Linked DNA regions of Homo sapiens: all the other regions are linked to region 4. The links are contacts of gene promoters, found by promoter capture Hi-C in human tissues and cell types (Jung and others, 2019). All regions are on one chromosome and are shown on one strand. The core of a region is centred on a gene start or on the middle of the fragment in contact, and the rest is flanking DNA. Distances in the headings are between cores, read along the strand shown.

What was found. Contacts are between HindIII fragments. The study calls those that stand out against the background at their distance.
Region 1: a fragment that was not itself captured here is called in contact with the fragment with the promoter of ZNF440 in region 4 in 1 of the 25 tissues and cell types used here (liver).
Region 2: a fragment that was not itself captured here is called in contact with the fragment with the promoter of ZNF440 in region 4 in 1 of the 25 tissues and cell types used here (dorsolateral prefrontal cortex).
Region 3: a fragment that was not itself captured here is called in contact with the fragment with the promoter of ZNF440 in region 4 in 1 of the 25 tissues and cell types used here (H1 embryonic stem cells).
Region 5: a fragment that was not itself captured here is called in contact with the fragment with the promoter of ZNF440 in region 4 in 1 of the 25 tissues and cell types used here (H1 embryonic stem cells).

What each region holds. Positions count from the first base shown.
Region 1 is chr19:11,567,931-11,573,422 of GRCh38, reverse strand. No RefSeq gene overlaps it. Among named protein-coding and RNA genes, the nearest start is that of ACP5, 7.0 kb to the left of the region's middle. RefSeq lists an enhancer at 5,001-5,090. The HindIII fragment of the contact is 7,606 bases long and covers 232-5,492 here.
Region 2 is chr19:11,979,344-11,984,704 of GRCh38, reverse strand. It overlaps ZNF763 (zinc finger protein 763), which reads right to left. Exons shown (of 4, transcript NM_001367172.2): 4 at 4,088-5,361. It also overlaps a transcript of ZNF69 not described here. Among named protein-coding and RNA genes, the nearest start is that of ZNF433-AS1, 5.6 kb to the left of the region's middle. The HindIII fragment of the contact is 4,224 bases long and covers 343-4,566 here.
Region 3 is chr19:11,651,903-11,656,885 of GRCh38, reverse strand. It overlaps the pseudogene ZNF887P. Among named protein-coding and RNA genes, the nearest start is that of ZNF627, 57 kb to the right of the region's middle. The HindIII fragment of the contact is 4,182 bases long and covers 1,643-4,983 here.
Region 4 is chr19:11,812,772-11,818,176 of GRCh38, reverse strand. It overlaps ZNF440 (zinc finger protein 440), which reads right to left and starts at 3,904. Exons shown (of 4, transcript NM_152357.3): 1 at 3,727-3,904. The coding sequence starts at 3,729. RefSeq lists silencers at 3,500-3,569, 3,990-4,069. The HindIII fragment of the contact is 18,958 bases long and covers 1-5,405 here.
Region 5 is chr19:11,633,413-11,638,778 of GRCh38, reverse strand. No RefSeq gene overlaps it. Among named protein-coding and RNA genes, the nearest start is that of ZNF627, 39 kb to the right of the region's middle. The HindIII fragment of the contact is 6,249 bases long and covers 1-5,366 here.

The DNA.
Region 1 (5,492 bases), core at 2,785-5,284, 240 kb after region 4:
AAAAATTAATTCAATAAAATCCAAGCAGAAAGAAGGGTACAACATAAAGCAAGTCTTCCTCCACCCCAGGGGCAACTAATATTAATCATTTTCTTTCTCTATATAGTCTATGCCTCCATAATCAAAACATTCCCTTTATTATTTTCTTTTTTTTTTCTTTTTTTTTTTTTTTGAGATGGAGTCTCACTCTGTCACCAGGCTGGAGTGCAGTGGCGTGAGCTCGGCTCGCTGAAACCTCCAACTCCCAGATTCAAGCAATTCTCCTGGCTCAGCCTCCTGAGTAGCTGGGATTATAGGCACGCGCCACCACGCCCAGCTAATTTTTTTTTTTTTTTTTTTTTTTTTTGAGATGGAGTCTTGCTCTGTCGCCCAGGCTGGAGTGCAGCGGCGTGATCTCGGCTCACTGCAAGCTCTGCCTCCCGGGTTCACACCATTCTCCTGCCTCAGCCTCCCAAGTAGCTGGGATTACAGGCGTCTGCCACCACACCCGGCTCGTTTTTTGTATTTTTAAATAGAGATGGGGTTTCATCGTGTTAGCCAGGATGGTCTCAATCTCCTGACCTCGTGATCCGCCTGCCTCAGCCTCCCAAAGTGCTGGGATTACAGGAGTGAGCCACCGCGCCTGGCAATTTTTGTATTTTTAGTAGAGATGGGGTTTCACCATGTTGGCCAGGATGGTCCCAATCTCCTGACCTCATGACCTGCCCGCCTCAGCCTCCCAAAGTGTTGGGATTACAGGCGTGAGCCGCCGTGCCCGGCCTATTATTTCTTTAGGGAGAGGGGTCTTGCTATATTGTCCAGGCTGGAGTGCAGTGGTGCAATCATAGCTCCCTGCAGCCTCAAACTCCTGGGCTCAAGAAATCCTCCCACCCTAGCCTCTCAAGTAGCTAGGACTACAGGCACGCACCACCACTCCTAACTAATTTTTAGATTTTTTTTTTTTGTAGAGATGGGAGTCTTGTTCTGTTGCCCAAACCGGTCTTGTACTCCTGGGCTCAAGCAATCCTCCTGCCTCAGCCTCCGAAAGTGTTGGGATTACAGGCATGAGCTATTGCTTCCAGACTGTTTTTCAGAGACAGAGTTTTGCTATGTTGCCCAGGCTGGTCTTGAGCTCCTGGGCTCAAGTGATCCATCTCAGCCTCCCGAGTAGATGAGATTACAGGGGCATGCCACTGCAAACACATTCCCATTTTTTACACCAAAAGCAACACAATATACACATAGTTCTGCACACATTCCCGTTACTGCACTCCACTTTTTTTTTTTTCTTTTTTGAGATGGAGTCTCACTCTGTCACCCAGGCTGGAGTACATGGGTGTAATGTTGGCTCACTGCAACCTCCATCTCCTGGGTTCAACCGATTAAGCAATTCTCCTGCCTCAGCCTCCCAGGTAGCTGGGATTACAGGCCCCCACCACCATGCCTGGCTAATTTTGTATTTTTAGTAGAGACGGCATTTCACCATGTTGGTCAGGCTGGTCTTGAACTCCTGACCTCAGGTGATTCACCTGCCTTGGCCTCCCAAAGTGCTGGGATTACAGGCATGAGCCACTGTGCCCAGTCCTGAATTGTTTCTTGCATAAGATCCAAGAATGCTCTCTTGGGGTCTGGATCGAGACCCCTTTCCTGTAACACTTCGAACAATTTTGCAATCCTCAATGTCATAACAAATGACCTTGTCTACGCATTACCTATGGGGCAGACATGTTTGCAGGATTCCCAGGAACAAGGAAAAAGATCGCACTTCTTTTTGACAGCCACGAAGCTTCTGCCTTATGTCACTGGCTCCTTGCTAGTGCCCCTTGCAGGATTTTATTGGTTTTGGGGGTTGTTTTGAGAGACAGAATCTTGCTCTGTCACTCAGACTAGAGTGCAATGGCAGGATCATAGCTCACTGCAGCCTCAAATTCACAGGGTCAGGTGATCCTCCTGCCTCAACCTCCCAAAGTGCTGGGATTGCAGGCGTGAGCCAAAGTGCCAAAGTGCTCAGCCTCATTGAGGTTTTTTTTTTGAGATGGAGTCTCACTCCATCAGCCAGGCTGGAGTGCAGTGGCACGATCTTGGCTCACTGCAACCTCCGCCTCCCGGGTTCAAGCAATTCTCTGCCTCAGCCTCCCAAGTAGCTGGGACTACAAGCACACGCCACCATGCCCAGCTAATTTTTGTATTTCTAGTAGAGATGGGGTTTCGCCATCTTTGCCAAGCTGGTCTTGAACTCCTGACCTCATGATCCACCCACCTCGGCCTCTCAAAGTGCTGGGATTACAGGCGTGAGCCACCGCACCCAGCCGTGGTCTTTTTAAATCTTTCCTTCTAGGCCAGGCATGGTGGCTCACACCTGTAATCCCAACACTTTCAGAGGCCGAGGCAGGTGGATCACCTGAGGTCAGGAGTTTGAGACCAGCCTGACCAATATAGTGAAACCCCGTCTCTACTAAAAATACAAAAATTAGCTGGGCATGGTGGCGTGTGCTTGTAGTCCCAGCTACTTGGGAGGCTGAGGCAGAGAATTGCTTGAACCCGGGAGGCGGAGGTTGCAGTGAGCCGATATGACGCCACTGCACTCCAGACTGAGCAACAGAGCGAGACTCTTTCTCAAAATACATAAATAAATAAATAATTGTTTCCCTCTTACCAACAAGGCTGCAGTGGTGGTCCCTGGACCAATGCTGTGAAAGTAATGTGTAAGAAAACTTCTAGAAGGAGAATTATCTCAGGGCTGGGCACAGTGGCTCACACCTGTAATCCCAGCACTTTGAGAGGCTGAGGCAGGCAGATCACTTGAGGTCAGGAGTTGGAGACCAGCCTGGCCAACATGGTGAAACCCCATCCCTACTAAAAATACAAAAAATTAGCTGGGTATGGTGGCACGTGCCTGTAATCCCAGCTACTGAGGCTGATGCAGGAGAATCGCTTGAACCCAGGAGGCAGAGGTTGCAGTGAGCCGAGATCACACCACTGCAATCCAGCCTGGGAAACAGAATGAGACTCCGTTTCAGGGGAAAAAAAAAAAAAAAAAAATCTCAGGGCCTGTTTTTCTTATACTGAAAGCAGAGTGCTAGACCTGATGTGACAGTTGCAGGGGAGCCCAGTTCCCCTCTGAGGGAGAGTTAAGTAACACCCACCCCCAGGCAACCCAGGCCATTAGCGCTAGGCAAGGCACAGGAACCCCTCCTTTGGCCCACCCTCAACCGCCACTTGCAACTGCTACACGGCAGGGACCCAGTTGTTTGGCTCCAGCTGCCTGCCTAGCGGAGTGAAATGAATCTGGACAAAATGTAAACAGGGCTGAGTGCAGTGGCTCATGCCTGTAATCCCAGCACTTTGGTAGGTAGGGGCAGGCAGATCACTTGAGGACAGGAGTTCAAGACCAGCCTGGCCAATATGGCAAAAACCCACCTCTACTAAAAAATACAAAAGAATGAGTCAGGCCTGGTGATGCATGCCTATAATCCCAGCTATTTGGGAGGCTGAGGCATGAGAATCGTTCTTGTCTGGGAAGTGGAGGCTGCAGTGAGCTGTGATCACGCCACTGCACTCCAGTTTGGGAGACTATCTCAAAAAAAAAAAAAAGTAACTGAGGTTACTTCTGGGGAGAGGCACTTGGTGAAATTGTCACCTTTCATTTGTTATTTTACTTATTTTTTTTTTTTTGAGAAGAAGTTTCCCTCTTGCTGTCCAGGCTGGAGTGCAGTGACGTGATCTCAGCTCACAGCAACCTCTGCCTCCCAGATTCAAGCGATTCTCCTGCCTCAGCCTCCTGAGTAGCTGGGATTACAGGCATGCGCCACCACGCCTGGTTAATTTTGTATTTTTTAGTAGAGACAGGGTTTCTCCATGTTGGTCAGGCTGATCTTGAATTCCCGACCTCAGGTGATCCACCCGCCTAGGCCTCCCAAAGTGCTGAGATTACAGGCATGAGCTACTGCTCCGGCTTATTTGTTACTTTGCGCGCGCGCGTGTGTGTGTGTGTGTGTGTGTGTGTGTGTGTGTGTATCTTGGTATAATTTGCTACTTTATAGATGTCAATACTGTTGAATTTGTTACAAGGTGTATGTGTTACTGTTACAATTTTTTGGTTTTTTTTGAAACAGTGTCTCACTCTGTTGCCCAGGCTGGAGTGCAATGGTGTAATCATAGCTCACTGCAGTTTCCACCTCCTGAGCTCAAGGGATCCTCCTGCCTCTGCCTCCTGAGTGGCTGGGACCACAGCTTCACCCCACCACTCTTGGTTAATTTTGTGTGTGTGTGTTTTGTAGAGATGGGGTCTTGCTATGTTGCCTAGGCTGGTCTCAAACTCCTGACCTCAAGTGATTCTTCCTCCTTAGCCTCCCAAAATGCAGGATTACAGGTGTGAGCCATCATGTCTGGCCAACTGTTATAATTAAGCAGTGATCTTTCCAAAATGCAATCCTGGCCAGGGGTGGTGGCTCACACCTGTAATCCCAACACTTTGGGAGGCTGAGGCGGGCAGATCACTTGAGATCAGGAGTTCGAGACCAGCCTGATCAACATGGCAAAACGCTGTCTCCATTAAAAATACAAAAATTAGCTGGCATTGTGGCGGGCGCCTGTAATTCCAGCTACTCAGGAGGCTGAGACAGGAGAATCACTTGAACCCAGGAGGTGGAGGTTGCAGTGGGCCGAGGTCGTACCACTGCACTCCAGCCTGGGCAACAGAGCAAGACTCTGTCTCAAGCAAACAAACAAATCCCCAAAATGTAATCCTGAGTTTGTTCCAGCTGCCATTTACCGTCACTTCTGATCCTGGCCCATGAGGCAGGGGCCAGAATCATCCTTGCTTCTCAGAGGCTATTACAGAAGCTCAGACGTGTTTTTGTGGGTTTTTATTTTTTAATTTTTTTTGGTACAATATTTATCTTAGATTGGACGGCTTAACCACTGTGACCAAGGTAATTTCTAGGAAGTGGCAGTCCCTCAATCTTAACCACAACAGTCTAGGGAGGTCACAGCCGCGCTCTTCTCACTGACTCAGAGGCACCAGACAGGCAGGAGTCTGAATCAGAGGTCACCATCATAGCCCAAGGACCCCGTTCTCATGGCCCAGAGCACAGAAAGAAGAAGTGACACATCCAATGTCACACGAAGACTGAGTGGCAGGGGAGGGGGGATTGTAACTCAGGCTCCCTCCTCTACATCAGCCAGACACTTCTACCGAGCACCAAGGACCAAAGCTCTGTGCCAGGCAGCTGGGGACCCAAGGACACTAGGAGGAATAAATCAGGGTGGGCGCTGGCCCTCAGGGAGCTTCTGTCTTGCTGAGGAGACAACACCAGCCAGCACTCAGCCATCTTAATTAATTATTTTATTTTTTTCTTTACTTTTCTGTTTTTTAGACAGGGTCTCACTCTGTTGCCCAGGCTGTCAGGCTGGAGTACAGTAGTGTGATCACAGCTCACTGCAACTTCCGTCTCCGGGGCTCAAGCAATCCTCCCTCCCACCTAAGCCTCCTGAACAGCTGGGACTACAAG
Region 2 (5,361 bases), core at 1,205-3,704, 170 kb before region 4:
TGGGAGGCGTAGATGGGGGGATAACCTGAGGTCAGGAGTTGCAGACCATCCTGGCCAACATGACAAAACCCCATCTCTACTAAAAGTACAAAAATTAGCTGGGCATGGTGGCAGGTGCCTGTAATCCCAGCTACTCAGGAGGCTGAGGCAGGAGAATCACCTGAACCTGGGAGGTGGAGGTTGCAGTGAGCCGAGATCAGGCCACTGCACTCCAGCCTAGGCGACAAGAGTGAGACCCTTTCTCAGAAAAAAAAAGAAAAAACTTGCACTCATTCTCCAAGCCCACGTGTGATACAATTCTTCCAGTATACCAAGGCAAGAACCTTAGGATACAGAAAGCCCTCTGTCCTTGTGATAAGGCAGGGGTCTAATTGAGCATGGTTCATGGTAGCTTGGAATTCCTGGGCTCAAGCCATCCTCCTGCCTCAGCCTCCCAAATAGCAGGAACTACAGGCAAGTGCCACCATGCGCAGCTAACATTTTTTGTTAATGAGGTGATGTATCACCATGTTGCCTTGGCTGGTCTCACTCCTAGCCTCAAGCAATCATCTGGCTTTGGTCTCCCAAAGGGCTGGGAGTAGAGGTGTGAGCCACTGTGCCTAGCCTATGTCACATTTAAATATTATGTTTTTAGAGAAAATTTTCTAAGAGTAAATAAATGTGATGCTGGTCTTATTTCTTTTATTTGCATATTTTAAACATTTTCAGCCGGGCACAATGGCTCACGCCTGTAATTGCAGCACTTTGGGAGGCCAAGCCAGGCGGATCACCTGAGGACAGGAGTTCGAGACCAGCCCGACCAACATGGAGTAACCCCATCTCTACTAAAAATTCAAAATTAGCCAGACGTGGTGGTGGGCGCCTGTAATCCCAGCTACTTGGGAGGCTGAGGCAGGAGAATCACTTGAACCTGGGAGGCGGAGGTTGCGATGAGCCGCGATTGAGCCATTGCACTCCAGTCTGGGCAACAAGAGTGAAACTCTTGTCTCCAAAAAAACCAAAACATTTTCAGGCAGTATAAGATTTTCTAGAGAGAGAATGCTTTATCTTGTGAGGGAAACTTACCTTAGATTATTCCTGAGATTTTTGTACTGATCTTCAATGATCTGGTCTTTCCATTTTTTTCTTAAAATACAGATCCATAAAAAATAGTCCTGATTATAAAATTATGGGGTTTTTTTTGGAGATGAGGGTCTCACTCTATCACCCAGGCTGGAGTGCAATGGCATGATCACAGCTCACTGCAGCCTCAACCTCTTGGGTTCAGGTGATTCTCCTACTGCAGCCTCTCAAGTAGCTGGGATTACAGGTGCATGTCACCATCCTGGCTAAAAAGTTTGTAGAGATAGGGTTTCACCATGTTGCCCAGGCTGTTCTCAGACTCCTGGGTTCAAGTCATCCACCCACCTTGGCCTCTCAAAGTGCTAGAACCACAGGCATGAGCCACCATGCCCAGCTATTATAAAATTAGTTTAAAAATTATTAGATTCTATGTTCATGGCTCACTGCAGCCATTCCTGATTTATCAAAGTTTTCCCTGTCCATATTCCAAATCACTGAACAGCACTGAAGAGCTAGAAACACTTGTTCTTTAATAAACTGAGGGAAGTAATATTGTCACGTGATAGTTTGAATGTATGTTCCCACCCAATGTCATGAGGAACTGCAATCCCCAGTGTTGGAGGTGAGTCCTGATGGGAGTTGTTTGGGTCAGGGGGACCTATGGCTTGTTTCTCTCATGGCTTGTTGCTGTCTTTGTGATAATCAGTGAGTTCTAGTGAGCTGCACCTTCCTACACCACTCTCTCTGTCTCACTCCTGCTTTCGCCATGTGACTGCCTGCTCCCCGTTCACCTTCCGCTATGATTGAAAGCTTCCTGAGGCCTTCACCAGAAGCTGAGCAGATGCTGGTGCCATGCTTCCTTTACAGGCAGATGCCAGGCAGACGTCACTGTGAATCACTGTGCCCAGCAATGAATAATTCTTTACAAGGGGACAAACCCTGTCTGGACATGGTGACTCATGCCTGGAATCCTAGCACTTTGGGAGACTGAGCTGTGAGGACTGCTTGAGACAAAGAATTAGAGAACAGCCTGGGCAACACAGCATAATCCTGACTCTATTACTTAAAATTCTAAATAAAAGTCTGAAAAGCAGCATTTCCCACCTATTCTCTCTGAGGGAGCCTTCATCTACATAACAAGGTCTCCTTTGCTAGCCAAGCTTCTTCCTTTCCTTTAGCATAATCTGTCTTGCCATTAAAAATGACTTCCCCACCAAACCTGGAATTTTTTTGGCCATGCCAAGTCTGCATTTTTCCTGGCCTCAGAATGGTATGTAAGCTTTTTTGTCTTATTGTTGGGTGGGTCCTCATTCTGAAGGCTCCCATATATACATGTTAAATAAATTTGTATGACTTTTCTCCTATTAATTCGCCTAAGTTCCTTGATCTGAAAATTTTTTTCCTGTTTTCTCACCTTATTTTATTAAAAAAAGTTCAAAAACAAGCATATCTAAAAATGAGCATTTTCATATCCCAGAAATCAAGGTATTTTCCATAGATAACCAGAAAATGCTATTTAGTAATTGCCTAACATCAACACAGAGTGATATTAAAACCTTATTGTGTAAAGTGGAATTCTGGAAGCTTAGCTTTGAATACATTTCATTTTGTCTGTGAAACATTGAAGAGTGTGTGTGGTGTTATGATATGTATTGGTTTTCATCCAGGGTAATAATGTTGGGTGTGTTAGACCTCTGGGGAAGGCCCCTGACCTGCTGCCCTCTTTCCACTCTAATGTTTCCCCACCTTTTTGATTGTGGGTCTTAAAACCCTCCCATGAGAGGGTCCCACTGACTTCATGAAGACTTTTAGCCTTGGAAATACTCGTGATATTCCCTATCTGTAGCTGTGTGTCTGAAGTTAGCTCAGAATAAACCACAAGTGTGTAGATTGCTAAAATAACTTACTTCTAAACACTGAAACTCAAAAACTGCAGATTTCTTTGTCTAAGCAGATGCAGAAAAGCAGAAGTTATAAAGCATCCGGACTCAAACAGGCACCATCACTGCCTTCTAAAATTAGTAGCCTTCCTGGCATATGAACACCCTTTGGGCCTGTGCTCCAGTGTCTCTTTGGGTTGGTCCTTGGGCTTTTTGTGAAACATCAAGACACCTCCATAGTCTAGGCCAATGTCAGGCTCTCCAGTGTGTCCTGTTCATCACCCTCACCCTGCACTTTCATTGTCACTGTCATTGGCCATTCCAACATTGTGCTTGCATCCTGTGGAAAGTCACATTTGGGGTCAAGTGGATGGTGTTGTTTCTACTGTTTGGTTAAAAGTGTCAGGGTGTATTTGGCCTTCAAGGGAGGATAAGGCAGGGGTTGGATTCAGGTGCACCCAACTCTTGTTTTTTTCATTTTGAGACAGAGTCTTGCTCTGTCGACTAGGTTGGAGAGTGCAATGGTGTGATCTCAGTTCAGTGTAACAACCACCTCCCAGGCTCAAGCGATTCTCCTGCCTCAGCCTCCTGAGTATCTGGGATTACAGGGATTACACCACGATGCCCAGCTAATTTATCTATTTCTTAAGGTTTCACCATGTTGGCCAGGCTGGTCTTGAACTCCTGACCTCAAGTGATCCACTCTCCTTGGCCTCCCAAAGTGCTAAGATTACAGGTGTGAGCCACCGTACCTGCTCAGGTGCCCCCACCTCTGTCACTGCCCTGTCTTCCCTGCTGTGAATCATGCTGTGTGATCTGACAATCAATGATTCCACCCTTCACTGATGTGGATACATTATCTGGGACTGGGTATGTCATCTCCACACACAGACAGGGTTTGGTCAGTGATTGATGCTGCATCCCGTGATGCCTGGACTTTGACCTTAGGGAGTTTTAAATAAGCGTTTCTGAAGAGCAGCTTCATTGGAACCTTAATGAAAATGAATTTTTCCATGCCATTGCATAACATATAAAAGTGACTTTTCCATGTTGCCATTAACTTTACATGGCTGAAATAAACAGGCTGTTGACAAGTTAGTATCAACAGCACATTATCAGAGAAAGAAAAGGCTGTATTTAGACAATTTACATTATTATTGTAATTTATTAGCTTCCTGTGACTCACTAAACCAACCTGAAAAAAATAGCTTTCTAAGGTATAAATGAATTTCTATGTTTTACCCAACGTACTTTCTGGTAAACAGCACCCATACATTTTATGAAATATTTTAGTCTTTAGAGAATAAGGCAAAAACAGCTCCAGGAGTCTAGAGCTGACATCCCCTCACCACAAGGCCAAGTCTTTTTTTTTTTTTTTTTTGAGACGGAGTTTTGCTCCTGTTGCCCAGGCTAGAGTGCAATGGCACAATCTTGGCTCACTGCAACCTCTGCCCCCCAGATTCAAGCGATTCTCCTGTGCCAGCCTCCCAACTAGCTAGGATTACAGAAGCAGGCCACCACGCCTGGCCAATTTTTGTAGTTTTAGTAGAGACAGGGGTTTCATCATATTGATCAGGCCAGTCTTGAACTCCTGACCTCAGGTGATTCACCTGCTTTGGTTTCTATCCAGTGTGAGTCCTACCATGTTTTCGAAGGTGTGAGGTAGATCTGAAGGTTTTTCCACATTGCTTACACTCATAGGGTTTCTCTCCAGTGTGAGTCCTTTCATGTTATCGAAAAGAAGTGAAAGAAATAAAGGCTTTCCCACATTGCTTACACTCATAGGGTTTCTCTCCAGTGTAAGATTTTTCAGGTATTTGAAATGACTTGGCAGAATAAAAGCCTTTCCCACATATCTTACATTTATAAGGTCTTTCTACAGAGTGCATTCTTACGTGTGTTTGTGTCCTTTCATGAATTCGAAGGTTCTTGGCAGATCTGAAGGCTTTCCCACATTCCTTACACTCATAGGGTTTCTCTCCAGTGTGAGTTCTACCATGGATTCGAAGGTGTGGGGCAGATCTGAAGGCTTTCCCACATTGCTTACACTCGTAGGGCTTCTCTTCAGGGTGAGTCCCAGCATGCATTTGAAGGATTGAGGCAGATCTGAAGGCTTTCCCACATTGCTTACACTCATAGGGTTTCTCTCCAGTGTGAGTCCTTTCATGGTACCAAAAGGAACTGGAACTACTGAAGGCTTTACCACATTGCTTGCATTCATAGGGTTTCTCTGCAGTGTGAGTTTTTTCATGTCTTTGAAATGACGTGGGAGAATAAAAGCCTTTCCCACATGTCTTACATTTATAAGGTCTTTCTCCAGAGTGTATTCTTATGTGTGTTTGTGTCCTTTCATGAATTTGAAGGTGTGAGGCAGATCTGAAGGCTTTCCCACATTCCTTACACTCATAGGGTTTCTCTC
Region 3 (4,983 bases), core at 2,484-4,983, 160 kb after region 4:
GCTTTCAGTACGTTCATATTGGTGTGCAGCCATCACCACCATCTATCTCCAGAACCCTTTTCATCTTGCAATATTGAAACTTTATGCCATTAAATCATAAGTCTCCATTACCCACTTCCCCTATTCCACACAATCACCATTCTACTTTCTTTATGAATTTGACTCCTCTGAGTACCTCATATAAGCAAAAACATTTTGGGTCTGGAGTTTAAGGAGCCCATGTCTGGAGACAGGTTGTAAAAAATCAAGTGACTCGACCTTATAAGGTGTGTCTTTATATGAATGGACTATTTCACTTAGCATAATGTGCTCCAAGTTCATCAATGCTGTAGCATTTGTCAGGTCACCCTTCCGTTTGAAGGCAGAGTAATAGTCTATCCTATGCATATACTACCTTTTGCTTATTCATCCATCTGTCAATATACAAGAGAGTTGCTTCCACATTTTCCCTATTGGTAAGTTATACTGCTATACCATGTATACAAATACCCATTTCAGGCCCCCGTCTCTATTCTTTTGCTTATATTCCCAGAAGGGAAAAATGGTGGATGTTATTTCCATTTTTTCAATGTATTGATTACCTGCCACACAGTTGTTTTTTTTTTTGTTTTTTTGTTTTTTTTTTTGAGATGGACTTTCGCTCTTGTTGCCCAGGCTGGAGTGCAATGGCGCGATCTCCACTCACTGTAACCTCCGCCTCCCGGGTTCAAGTGATTCTCCTGCCTCAGCCTCCTGAGTAGCTGGGATTACAAGCATGGGCCACCATGCCCGGCTAATTTTTTTGTATTTTTAGTAGAGATGGGGTTTCTCCATCTTGGTCAGGCTGGTCTTCAACTCCCAATCTCAGGTGATCTGCCCACTTCAGGCTCCCAAAGTGCTGGGATTACAGGCATGAGCCACCGCACCCGGCCTGCCATATAGTTTTCAAAAGTAGTTGTGACATTTTGCATTTCCATCAATAGTGTACAAGGGTCCTCACTATTCCACATCGTTGCCAGCATGTTATTTTGTTCTTGGACAGAAGCAAACTAATGAGGGTGAGGGGATATAGATGTCATTTTGCTCTTGATTTGCATGTCCCTAAACCATGAGTGATGCTGAACATCTTCTTTATGTAATTATTGTCTATTTGTACATCCTCATTAGAGAAATGTCTATTCAACTCCTTCACCTATTTTTTAATGGGGTTGTGCTTTATCCACCAGGGGCTCCTAAAACAAAATGACATAAGCTGGGTGTATTAAACACCTAACATTTGCTCCTCAGTATACAGGAGATTGTGAACTCCAAGATCAAAGTGATAGTAGATTCAGTGCCTGGTAAGGGCAAGCTTCCTTGTTCAAAGAAGGCTTTCATCTCATTGTGTCCTCACATAATAGAGAGCAAATGCAAGCTCTCTAGGGAACCTTATAGTCCCATTCCTGAGAACTCTACCCTCATGATCCCAAGTAATCCTAATTACCTCCCAGGCATCCTATCTCCTCATTCCATACATTAGGGAGTAAGGTTTCAAAATATGAATTTCAGGGCTGGGCGTGGTGGCGCATCTCTATAATCCCGGCACTTTGGGAGGCCGAGGTGCATGGATCACCTGAGGTCAGGAGTTGGAGACCAGCCTGACCAACATGGTGAAACCCTGTCTCTACTAAATACAAAAAATTAGCCGGGTACGGTGGCGTATGCCTACAGTCTCAGCTACTTGGGAGGCTGAGGCAGGAGAATCGCTTGAAACCAGGAGGTGGAGGTTGCATTGAGCCAAGATTGTGCCATTGCGCTCCAGCCTAGGCAACAAGAGCAAAACTCTCTCAAAAAAATAATAATAATATGAATTTCAGGGGACAAATAAAGCAATAATTTTCTACCTGCTCCCTAAATTTATGACCTCACATGCAAAATACATGCTTACCATCCTAACATCACCAAAAGTCTTGACTTGTTTCAGCATACTCTGAAGCTTAATATCAAAGTCGCTTCCAGGTCACCAGAGATAACATGGCCAAAACCATTGCAAGATGTGTTTGATGATTCAAAGAGAAAGAAAAAACAGCTTTTCCTATGACAACGTTTCCAACTAAAGCATCTGCAATTATGAAGACTGAAACTTCAGCAGGGTGCGGTGGCTCACGCCTATAATCCCAGCACTTTGGGAGGCCAAGGTGGGCAGATCATCAGAGATCAGGAGTTCAAGACCAGCCTGGCCAACATGATGAAACCCTGTCTCTGCTACAAATACAAAATTTAGCTGGGGATGGTGGTGTGCGCCTGTAATCCCAGCTATTTGGGAGGCTGAGGCAGGAGAATCGCTTGAACCTGGGAGGCAGAGGTTGCAGTGAGCTGAGATCGTGCCACTGCACTCCAGCCTGGGCGACAGAGACTCCATCTCAAAAAAAAAGAAAAAAAAAAAGGACTGAAAGTTCGATGCTTAAATATTTTCAGCCCTCAAACACCACAGATCCAAGATTTGTGTTACTGACCTTCCACCAAAGAGGCAACATCTGCAATCAGATGTTGGTTCTTCCAGCAGAGGATCCTCCTGATGTCCTGAAAGAAAATTCTGGCCGGGCAGGGTGGCTCATTCCTGTAGTCCCAGCACTTTGGGAGGTCAAGGTGGGCAGATCACGACGTCAGGAGTTCAAGACCAGCCTGGCCAACATGGTGAAACCCCATCTCTTCTAAAAATACAAAAATTAGCCGGGTGTGGTGGCGGGCACCTGTAATCCCAGCTGGTTGGGAGGCTGAGGCAGGAGAATCACTTGAGCCCAGGAGGTGGAGGTTGCAGTGAGCCGAGATCACACCATTGCACTCCAGCCTGGGTGACAGAGCAAGACTCCATCTCAAAAAAAAAAAAAAAGAAAATTCAAGTTAAACTGATGTCCCCTGACTTATCTACACTGCCACATATCTAAGCACCTCAACACACTGCAGCTTTAGGAACCACAGAGCAATCATCACATGAGGGTTATCAGGAGAGAAGAACCAAGGATTTGGAGAATGTTAACACGTGTTTTTGAGGCCATTAAATGAAACCAATCCAAAACGTTTTTTAAAAAAAAAAGAAAATGTTTCATTGTAGCTGACATATACTATGAGGTGGGCCTGTACTATGGAGGTGGGCATGTGATGGTTATCTGTATTAAACATCTACAGATGTTTTTTCTTGTCAGCATTCCCTAAATAACACAATGAAACAACTATTTTTATATCGTTTACAATGCATTAGGCAGTATGGATAACCTAGAGATGATTTAAAGTGTACAAGAGGATGTGCTTAGGTTCTAGGAAAATACACCATTTTATATAAAGCACTTGAGCATCTTCAGATTTAGATGTTCTGAAGTGGGGAGCGGGGTGCCTGCAACTAATCCCCTGAGAATACCAGGACATGACAGTATTTCAGAGAAACAGAAACTACACAAGGCGTTACCACATTTTTTACACTCATAGTTTCTCTCCAGAGTAAATTCTTTCATGTATCTAAAATAAACAAGGAGCATGGAAAACAAGAATCGTTTTCCATGTTCCTTACAGTTATGAGGTCTATCGCCAGCATGTCACACCATATGCCTTCAAACGATTGAGAGAGAAAGGAAAGGTTTCCCATGTTCCTAACATCATTGTTTTTCTCAAGTGTCAGTTCTTTCATGGTTTCAGAAGGTACTGGAATAGTGGAAGGCTTTACTTTTTTTTTTTTTTTTTTTGAGACGGAGTCTCACTCTGTCACCTGGCTGGAGTACAGTGGCACAATCTCGGTTCACTGCAACCTCCACCTCCCAGGTTCAAGCAATTCTCCTGCCTCAGCCTCCCAAGTAGCTGGTACTACAGGCACATGCCACCACGCCCAGCTAATTTTTGTATTTTTAGTAGAGATGGGGTTTTACCATGTTGGCCATGATGGTCTCAATCTCTTGACCTCATGATCCGCCCGCCTTGGCCTCCCAAAGTGCTGGGATTACAGGCGTCAGCCACCGCACCCAGCCGGCTTTACATTTTTTATATCCACACAACTTTTCTCCGTTGTGAGTCCTTTCATGTCTTTGAAGGGAACTGTGATAACAGAAGGCTTTCCCACATTCCTTACACTCAAAGTTTCTCTGCAGTGTGGGTAATTTTATGTCTACGAAAAGCAACAGGATAACGGAAGGCTTCCCCACATTCCTGACATTCATAAGGTTTCTCTGCAGTGTGGGTAATTTTATGTCTATGAAAGGTCGTGGGATGACTGAAGGCTTTCCCACAGTCCTCACATTCATACGGCTTCTCTCCAGTGTGAATTCTTTTATGTACTCGAAGTGAACTGGAATATCTGAAGGCTTTCCCACATTCCTGACATTCATAGGGCTTCTCTCCAGTGTGAGTCTTTTCATGATTTTTAATAGAACTGGGAAATCTAAAAGCTTTACCACATTGTTTACATATATAGGGTTTCTCTCCAGTGTGAATTCTTGCATGTTTTCTAAGGGAACTGGAACAATTAAAGGCTTTCCCACATTGCTTACATTCATAGGGTTTCTCTCCAGTGTGAGTCCTTTCATGATACTGAAAGGAATTGGAAGAAGCGAAGGCTTTCCCACATTGCTTGCATTCATAGGGCTTCTCTCCAGTGTGGATTCTTTCATGTTTTTTAATGGAACTGGAACAACTAAAGGTTTTCCCACATTGCTTACATTCATATGGTTTCTCCCCGGTGTGCATTCTTTCATGTCTATGAAAGGAGCTGGGAAAACCAAAGGCTTTCCCACATTCATTACATTCATATGGCTTCTGTCCAGTATGAGATCTTTCATGTGTGAGATATAAACTGAGATTATCAAAGGCTTTCCCACAAAACTTACATTTATAAGGTCCATCTCCACTGTGCACTACCCTGTATCTTCGAACGGTTTGGGGAGAATCGAAGGTTTTTTCCCATTCCTTACAATCATAGGGTTTCTCTCCTGTGTGAGGCTTTTCATGTGTTTGGAAGGAGTGGAGGCAGCTGAAGGT
Region 4 (5,405 bases), core at 2,655-5,154:
GCTGGAGTGCAATGGCACAATCACGGCTCACTGCACCTCCACCTCCCAAGTTCAAGCAATTCTCTTGTCTCAGCCTCCCGAGTAGCTGGGATCACAGGCACATGCCACCATGCCCAGTTAATTTTTTTTTGTATTTTTAGTACAGACAGGGTTTCATCAGGCTGGTATCGAACCCCTAATCTCAAGTGATCCGCCCACCTCGGCCTCCCAAAGTGCTGGGATTACAGGCGTGAGCCACCACACCTGGCCTGATAATTATAGTTATGTTTTAATGCACTTGTATGCACTAAAATGTAAAGGATAGTTTTCTTTAAATCAACAGAGTAATAAATTTTGTGACGCTGTCAGCCCACATGCACGTAGGCACAGCTCAGTTTAGTCTTTTACATAGACAAGATCCCTACATAAGAAAAACTTAGACAGTACGTTCCTCCACTTGCTTTAGGAGGATGCCCTACTCTGTAAGAGAGGCTTTCTTTCTTTCTTTCCTTTTTTTTTTTTAAATAGAGACAGGGTCTCACTGTGTTGGCCACGTTGGTCTTGAACTCTGTCTTGTTTGTTTGTTTTGTTTTTGTTTTTTGAGATGGGGTCTCACTCTGTTACCCAAGCTGGAGTGCAGTGGCGTGTCCTCAGCTGGGCTGCAACCTCTGCCTCCCGGGTTCAAGTGATTGTCCCATCCAGCCTCCCGAGTACCTGGGACTACAGGTGCAGGCCACCACACCCGGCTAATTTTTGTTATTTTTGGAAGAGATGGGGTTTCACTATATTGCCCAGGCTGGTCTCAAACTCCTGACCTCAAGTGATCCTCCCACCTCGGCCTCCCAAAGTGCTTAGATTACAGGCCTAAGCCATCATGCTGGCCCAGAGTAGCTTTCAATAAACTCTCTTTGCACTGTACTTTCCGACTCGTCTTGAATTCCTTCCTGTATGAGATCCAAGAACTCTCTTGGGATCTGATCAGGACCTCTTTTCCCAGTAATATAAGCAAGAACTTAACTTCCAATTTTGGAGTACTGAGTCCATTTCTCTGGAGTCTGTGTTTTTCCCAAATGGGCCATTGCTATCTTTTTGCTTGAATAAACTCTTCCAGTTGAAATCTGAAACTTTCGATTATTTCGGGTTGACAAGTCCAAATAAGGTGACTGCATCTCTGCAACCAATCAAGCATTTATCTGGTTTGTCTCCTCATGTACCTTATAAAAGTCCAGCCTTCAACCTGTAAACTAAAAATAAAAACATACCTTCTGGCCTGGTGAGGTGGCTCACACATGTAATCCCAGCATTTTGGGAGGCCGAGGCCAGTGGATCACTTGAGGTCAGGAGTTCAGGAACAGCCTGGCCAACATGGTGAAACCCCATCTCTACTAAAAATACAAAAATTAGCCGGGTGTGGTGGCACATGCCTGTAATCCCAGCCACTCGGGAAGCTGAGGCAGGAGAATCGCTTGAACCCGGAAGGTGGAGGTTGCAGTGAGCCAAGATAGAGCCACTGCACACCACCCTGGGCTACAGGAGACTCTGTCTCAAACAAAAACAAAAACAAAGTACCTTCCCAGCTAAGTGAAGTGACTGGCTCTTGGCCAAGGGAACCCCCAAAAAACCCTGAAAATTGAGTGCCTCTGTATGACAGGATGGGAGGTGAGACAGGTCTCCTTATACCCTCTCCCTTTAGGAGTTTACATGCAGCAACTGACGCACATTCATGTAAAAACAGACATTATCTGACTGGAAAAACAGACTCCTTGTGGCAACAAGATACCAAATTACAAACAAGACCTAAGGCCACGCAAGGCAAAGGTAAAGTTACGCCTTAGAATTCATAAAATCTCGAGAAACAGGTCTGTTTTTTGGCTGGGATGGAATGAAGTGGCAGATAACAGACCCCCTTCCTTCAGCATTCCTTCCTACCTCCTCCAAACTTTAGACAAAGATTCAACACTCTCAACCAGCTGCCACCTACAGAATCCCTCAACTACCTGTGCCTTCTAACCCCCCTTCCACAGGTCCCACCCTTTCTGCCAATGGAACTTACACCTTCCAGGCACTGATTCATGATTTTCCCTGCAATTCCTGTCTCTCTGAAATGAATAAAACCAAACTGTCTTGAGCTGCCTCGGGACCACTTACTCCAGGCTGCTTGGGGTTGTGTTTCCCTCGGCCAACGGCTCTCCTATTCGGCTCCTAATAAACTTCTTTATTTTACATAGCTTGGCTTTTTCCGTTGACAAACCACAAGCCAGGACTGGGTGTTTCTCATTCGTGAATCGTTGTTGTTGTTTTGAGATGGAGTCTGGCTCTGTTGCCAGGCTGGAGTGACGCCGTCTTGGCTGACTGCAACCGCCGCCTCCTGGGTTCAAGCAATTCTTCTGCCTCAGCCTCTCAAGTAGCTGGGATTACAGGCACGCGCCACCATGCCCAGCTAATTTTTGTATTTTTAGTAGAGATGGGGTTTCACCATGTTGGCCAGGCTGGTCTTGAACTCCTGACTTCCTGATCCGCCCGCCTCGGCCTCCCAAAGTGCTGGGATTACAGGCGTGAGCCACCGCGCCCGGCCCTAAACTCTTTAATTGTTAACGTACCTCAGTTTAATTTTTAACAGAAAAAAGTGGGCACTGGGGACCCCAAAGACCGCTACTCCTCCCACACGAACCTGTCAGAGATGATAAATTACTTTTCTAAAAGCTTTAGTAAGCTGTTCTTTGTTTCTTGAGACCGACTTCCTTGTCTCCTAGCTACCTGTTCTGTAAACAACCTTCCCGCTTTTGCCGCGCCCAGACAAGTCCAGATACGCCTTCCCGCCTAGTAACGGACAGTCCCTGTTCCTTCCCGTCTCATAGACCCTATTTAATTTGTGTGTGTGTGTGTGTGTGTGTGTGTGTGTGTGTGTGTGTGACGGAGTTGCCCAGTTGTCTCGCTCTGTTGCCCAGGCTGGAGTACAGTGGTGCGATCTCGGCTCACTGCAAGCTCCACCTCCCGGGTTCACGCCATTCTCCTGCCTCAGCCTCCCGAGTAGCTGGAACTACAGGCGCCCGCCACCATACCCAGTTAATTTTTTTGTATTTTTAGTGGAGACGGGGTTTCACCGTGTTAGCCAGGGATGGTCTCGATCTCCTGACCTCGCGATCCGCCTGCCTCGGCCTCCCAAAGTGCTGGGGTTACAGGCGTGACCCACCGCGCCTGGCCAGACCCTATTTAATTTTAAACCTTAGCCTATCGAGTTAGTTTAGATTGTGAGGTCCAACCCTAGCCAATGAGGAAAGGACACAGAAGTGCTAGAAACTGCGTTAAGGAGAAAAACCCCTGCCCTACCCCGCTCGCTGTGCTCTTGTGACTGGCGCAAGCTGCACCCTTGTGTAGAAATAAATTTGCTTTGCTGAGGAATTTTCTGCCTAGATGCTGGTTTTCTTTGCGGCACCGGGCACTTGTTTCTAACAAACCCCATATCCGAGGCGGGATCCCCCCATATCCCTCCCGTGGCCCCCGCATAATGTGGGGAGACGCGGAGCTGCCCAGATTAGGCTCCGGAGCCGGGGCCGCAGTCGCCGTGAAGGGACGGGACAGGAGGCCCGGGGTCCCGGCTGCCGGCCCAGCCCCACCCTGCGACCGAGGGGACTCGCGTCCACGACCCCGGAGTCGCCGCGTGGAGGCCCGGGTCCCGCCTCAGCCGGTTCCGGCCGATTCCAGCCCCTCTCCCAGTCGCCCGGACGCCAGCCCCCTCACACACACCATTTCTCGGCTTCCAGGGTGTTCCGGCGTCCTCTGCGTGGCTCCCGCGACTAGTGTAGGTCACAGTGCAGGTTACAGAGCGACAGAAGCTCTGGTGGAGGCACCTAGTCCCTCTCGAAGCAAGAAAGCCGAGATCCTGACCGCTGTCGGCGCAGCACTAAAGGAATGGACGGAGGGCGACTGTCCCTTCCCCCTTCCCCGGATGGACAGTTGACAGGGCCCCGCCCCAGCACCCCTGATTGGATGGGGCGCCAGGCCCCGCCTCCTCCGTGCTGAGTGACAGCAGAAGCCCTGGGTAACCGGGTCCTGCAGATCATGTCTGACTTGTTCTGGCCACAGCGTCTCTGAGCGAGCAGCCTCTCTAAGCGAGCAGCCTCTCTAAGCGAACAGCCTCTCTAAGCGAGCGCCTTCCTTGAGCCCTGGTCATCAGATATTTGCATTTCAAGGCGACTTGCTCCTTATTGTTAGAAGAGGCACTGTTAGCTTCCTCATTCAAGGGGCTGTCCCTGCTCCTTCCTTCTGCACGGGATCACAAGTGTGTGCAGGGCATTTCAGACTCAGTGTTCAATGGAGAGATACGCTTGCCTCAGAGCAGGAGGGGAGCCCAGACCAGGCAAGGCACGACTGCACCAGGAGAGAGAGGCAGATGTCTTCCAGCGTGCGGGAAATGGGATGAGGCATGGCCAAGGCTTCCTCACACTGCTATGGACTCCAGCAAGGTTTTCCTTGTAAGGGAGCTAACCAAGCCAGAACTTATTAAAGATTTAGAGGCTCTCAGTACTATGTATATCTATCCCTGGTGCATTGACAGTGACTGAAGACCCATTTTTCAGGACATGCTGTGTAGGACTGAGCCAGGGAACATGATATAGCATGGCACTTTTATCTCACATATAACCCCCAAGGAGCAGGGTTAACTGAAATGAAAGATGGTCTCAGGGGAAGCTGTAAATGAGAAATTCTGTCATAGAAATTATGATTTAGGCAGGCCGGGCGCGGTGGCTCATGCCTGTAATCCCAGCACTTTGAGAGGCTGAGGCAGGTGGATCACGAGGTCAGGAGTTCAAGACCAGCCTGGCCAACATGGTGAAATCCTATCTCTACTAAAAATACAAAAATTAGCCAGGAATGGTGGCGCATGCCTGTAATCCCAGCTACTTGAAAGGCTGAGGCAGGAGAATTGCTTGAACCGGGAGGCAGAGTTTGCAGTGAGCCAAGATCGTGCCACTGCATTCCAGCCTGAGACACAGTGAGACTCCATCTCAAAAAAAAAAAAATTATGTTTTAGCCATCTTTTTTTGAGACGGGGTCTCACTCTGTCGCCCAAGCTGGAGTGCAGTGGTGCGATGGCTACTCAATGCAGCCTCAACCTCCCAGACTCAAGCAATCCTCCCACCTCAGCCTCCTAAGTAGGTGGGACTACAAGTGCCTGCCACCATGCCTGGCTAGTTTTTTATTTTTGGTAGAGATGAGGTCTCATTCGGTTGTTCAGGTTGATCTCAAACTCCTGAGCTTAAGTGATCCTCCAGCCTCAGCCTCCCAAAGTGTTGGGATTACAGGTGTGCGCCTGGCCTCTTGGGCATCTTCATTGCTCCACACCTTACAATGATAAATTCAATATTCTGTGAATATTTCCTGGAGAAATTAGCACAGCCATAACTTGTGATAAGGTAAATCAG
Region 5 (5,366 bases), core at 1,760-4,259, 180 kb after region 4:
GAGGTTAAACAGATTCTTGGGAGCCAGGTTCTGACTGCTGAAACAGAGCCCCAGAACCGATCAGAACCTGGTGATGAGGCCTGAACACTGAAGGATTTAACTCTAGGCTCTCAACATGCCTTCCTGTCCTGTCTGCATAGTGTGGCAACACTCTCTCCTTCCAGACCTTCATCATATTCTCTCTTTTTTTTTTTTTTTTTTTTTTTTTGAGACAGAGTCTCGCTCTGTCGCCCAGGCTGGGGTGCGATAGCGCGATCTCCGCTCACTGCAACCTCCGCCTTCCGAGTTCAAGGGATTCTCCCGCCTCAGCCTCCAGAGTAGCTGGGATTACAGACACCCGCCATCATGCCTGGCTAATGTTGGTATTTTTGTAGAGACAAGGACACCGCGCCCAGCCCCAGACCTTCATTTTCACCAGCAGGAAACTCACCTGGAGTCAGTTTAAGGTACTGACTGACATAAATTGTCAAATTCATAAACCTTTTCTCCATAAGGTAATCCAATGGGTCTTGACCTTAACAGATTTTCTACATATATCAAATCACACTCCGACTCCAGCTATTCTATGTGTAAACCAAAAATAAAATTCAAAGCCCACCCCTCTCTCCCAAACTGAAGGATTCCCCTCTCGGCTAAGGGCATCCCAAAGTAAACCTGAAAATCTAGAAATCTAGTTCAGGCCACGATGGAAAGCAGGGGTCAGACCGGTAGTCCCATCTTAGCACCTATGGTCCCAGTGATCCTCAAGTGGGAGGATCACTTGAGCCAGGGAAGTCAAGGCTGCAGTGAGCTGTGATTGTGCCACTGCACTCCAGCCTGGGCGACAGAGTGAGACTCCGTCTCAAAAAAAAAAAAAAAAATTATAATAAGTGTGGATGAGGACATGGAGAAACGGGAATCCTTGTGCACTGATGTAGAGAATGTAAAACATTGCAGCCACTGTGTAAAACAGTATGGCTGTTCCTTAAAAAGGTGAATTTAGAATTCCCCTGTGACTATTCAACTCCTAGGTATATATCCTAAAAAATCAAAAGCACAACACACAGAGACACATGTACACCAATTTCATAGCAGCCTTATTCAGAATATTACTGTGGAAAAAACCCACATGTTTATCAACAAACAAATGGATGAGCAAAGGGTGATTTATCCCTACAATAGAATATTTTCAGGCACAAAAAAGCAATGAATTACTGACACGTTAACACATGCATGCAACTTGAAAACATTATGCTAAGTGAAATAAGCCAGAGACACCAGAATAAATATTGTATACTTTCACTTATATGAGGTGCCTAGAATAGTCAAATTCATAAAGGGATAAAGTAGAATAGAGATTATCAGGGCCTGTGAATAGAGGAGAATGTGGAGTTACGTGCATGAGTATGAAAATTTAAGTTAAAAACATTGGCGGGGCCAGGTGCGGTGACACATGCCTGTAATCCCAGCACTTTGGGCGGTTGAGGTGGGTGGATACCTGAAGTCAGGAGTTTGAGACCAGTCTGGCCAACATGGTGAAACTCCATCTCTACTAAAAATACAAAACAAAAATTAGCCAGGCATGGTGGTGGCCACCTGTTATTCCAGCTACTTGGGAGGCTGAGGCAGGAGAATTGCTTGAACCCAGGAGGCAGAGGTTGCAGTGAGCCAAGTTCACGCCTCTGCACTCCAGCCTAGGTGACAGAGCAAGACTCCATCCCCCCCCAAAAAAAATTAAGTTAAATAATAGCCAGGCGTAGTGGCATGTGCCTATAGTCCCAGCTACTAGGGTGGTTGAGGCAGGAGAATCACTTGAGCCCAGAATCAGTTGGGGTTGCAGTGATGAGTGATTGAGCCACTGCATTCCAGCCTGGGTGACAGAGTGAGATTCTGTCTCAAAAATAAAAATACAAAAAATTAAAAATAAAAGGCAGTTTTCTTTTCTTTTTTTTGAGACAGAGTCTCACTCTGTTGCCCAGGCTGGAGTGCAGTGGCACGATATCAGCTCACTGCAACCTCCACCTCCTGGGTTCAAGCGATTCTCCTGCCTCAGCCTCCCCAGTAGCTGGGATTACAGGTGCATGCTACCATGCTGGGCTAATTTTTTGTATCTTTAGTAGAGATGGGATTTCACCATGTTGGCCAGGCTGGTCTCAAACTCCTAACCTCAGGTGATCCGCCTGCCTCAGCCTCCCAAAGTGCTGGGATTGCAGGTGTGAGCCACCACGCCTGGCCCTGGCAGCTTTCATATCTCAAATATTGAGTTAATTTTATACATATCCAGAATATCAGTCACACCTAATACTTACCTAATATTGATTGATAGAATGACATTAAAATGTCATTAATTGTGTAAATTTTAAAAAATTTCTTCTCAACACAAGATCTCACCATGTTGCCCACGCTGAACTTGAAGTCTTGGCCTCCAGCAGTCTTCCCACCTCAGTCTCCAGAAATGCTAGGAATGGCCGGGCACGGTGGCTCACGCCTGTAATCCCAGCACTTTGGGAGGCTGAGGCGTGTGGATCACGAGGTCAAGAGATCGAGGCCATCTTGACCAACATGGTGAAACCCTATCTCTACTAAAAATACAAAAATTAGCTGGGTGTGGTGGCGCGAGCCTGTAATCCCAGCTACTCAGGAGGCTGAGGCAGGAGAATCACTTGAACCTGGGAGGCGGATGTTGCTGTGAGCCAAGATCACGCCACTGCACTCCAGCCTGGCGAGAGTGAGACTCCATCTTTTTTTTTTTTTTTTTTTGAGACAGTGTCTCCCACTGTCGCCCAGGCTGGAGTGCAATGTCACAATCTCGGCTCACTGCAACTTCTGCATCCCGGGTTCACACGATTCTCCTGCCTCAGCCTCCTGAGTAGCTGGGATTACAGGTGCACACCACCACACCCGGCTAATTTTTTGTATTTTTAGTAGAGACAGGGTTTCACTATGTTGGTCAGGCCGGCCTTGAACTTCTGACCTCATGATCCGCCCGCCTCGGCCTCCCAAAGTGCTGGGATTACAGGCTTGAGCCACCACGCCCGGCCGAGACTCCGTCTTAAAAAAATAAAAATGCTGGGATTACAGGCATGAGCCATAATGCATGACCAAGACACTCATTTTATACCCCAAGACAAAAAATACTCGAAATGGAATGGAAGATGATATACTTTAAATGTACATCCCCGCAAAATCTCACATTGAATTGCAATCCCCAAGGTTGGAAGCAGGGCCTGGTGGGAGGTGTTTGGATCATGGGGACAGATCTCTAATGAATGGCTTGGGCCATCCCCTTAGTGATAGGTGAGCTCTTCTTCTGAGTTCGCACAAGGTCTGGTGGTTTGAAAGTGTGTGGCACCTCCCCTCTACCTCTCTCTCTCGTTCCTATTTTGCCACGTGAGAGGCCTGCTCCGGCTTCACCCTCCACCAAAAGTAAAAACTCTGAGGCCTCCCCAGAACCTGAGCAGATGCCAGCACCATGCTTCCTATAAAGCTTGCAGAAACATGAGTTGATAAAACATTTCTTTATCAATTATCCAGCCTCAGGTATTTTTATGGCAAAGCAAGAAAAGCCTAATACAGAGGTAAAAAGGTATTCCACGCAAATAGTAACCAAAAGAGAACAAGAGTGGATATGCCATTATCATACTTGACTAGACTTTAAGGCAAAACCTATTTAAAAACACAAAGAACGCTATCTTTTGTGTGTGGGGGGGTACATAGTAGGTGTATATATTTATTGGGTACAAGAGATATTTTAATACAGGCATACAATGTGTAATAACCATGTATTAGTCCGTTTTCACACTGCTGATAAAGACATACCTGAGGCTGGGAAGAAAAAGATGTTGGTCGGGCACGGTGGCTCACGTCTGTAATCCCAACGCTTTGGGAGGCTGAGGTGGGCAGATCATGAGGTCAGGAGTTCGAGACCAGCCTGGCCAAGATGGTGAAACCCCGTCTCTACTAAAAATACAAAAATTAGCCAGGCATGGTGGTGCAAGCCTATAGTCCCAGCTACTCAGGAGGCTGAGGCAGAAGAATTGCTTGAACCCGGGAGGCGGAGGTTGCAGTGAGCTGACATCATGCCACTGCACTCCAGCCTGGGTGACAGAGCAAGACTGCATCTCAAAAAAAAAAAAAAAGAAAGAAAAGAAAAGAAAAGAAAAAAAGAAAAAGATATTTAATTGGACTTACAGTTTCACATGGCTGGGGAGGCCTCAGAATCATGGCGGGAGGCAAAAGACACTTCTTACATGGCAGCGGCAAGAGAAAATGAGGAAAAAGGAAAAGCAGAAATCCCTGATAAACCCATCTCACTACTATGAGAACAGCAGGGGAAAGACCATCCCCCATGATTCAATTACTACCTCTGGATTCCTCCCACAACATGTGGGAATTCTGGGAGATATAATTCAAGCTGAGATCTGGGTGTGGACACAGCCAAACCATATCATTCTACCCCTGACCCCTCCAAATCTCATGTCCTCACATTTCAAAATCAATCATGCTTTCCCAACAGTACCCCAAAGTCTTAACACATTTCAGCATTAATCCCAAAGTCCACAGTCCAAAGTCTCATCTGAGACAAGGCAAGTCCCTCCCGCCTATGAGCCTGTAAAATCAAAGGCAAGCTAGTTGCTTCCTAGATACAATGGGGGTACAGGTATTGGGTAAATACAGCCATTCCAAAGGGGAGAAATTGGCCAAAACAAAGGAGTTACAGGGCCCATGCAAGTCTGAAATCCAGCAGGGCACTCAAATTTTAAAGCTCCAAAATGATCTCCTTTGACTCCAGGTCTCACATCCAGGTCACACTGATGCAAGAGGTGGGTTCCCATGGTCTTGGGCAGCTCTGCCCCTGTGGCTTTGCAGGTACAGCCTCCCTCCCAGCTGCTTTCACGGGCTGGTGTTGAGTGTCTGCAGCTTTTCCAGGTGCACAGTGCAAGCTGTCAGTGGATCGACCATTCTGGGGTCTGGAGGATGGTAGCCCTCTTCTCACAGCTCCACTAGGCAGTGCCCCCAGTAAAGACTCTGTAGGGGGGGCTCTGACCCCACATTTCCCTTCTGCACTGCCCTAGCAGAGGTTCTCCATGAGCACCCCACCTCTGCAGTAAACTTTTGCCTGGACATCCAAGTGTTTCCATACATCTTCTGAAATCTAGGTGGAGGTTCCCAAACCTCAGTTCATGACTTCTTTGTACCTGCAGGCTCAACACCATGCGGAAGCTGCCAAGGCTTGGGGCTTCAACCCTTTGAAGCCACAGCCCAAGCTGTACGTTCGCCCCTTTCAGTCACGGCTGGAGTGGCTGGGACACAGGGCACCAAGTCCCTACATTGCACACAGCACGGGGACCCTGGGCCTGGCCCGTGAAACCACTTTTTCCTCCTGG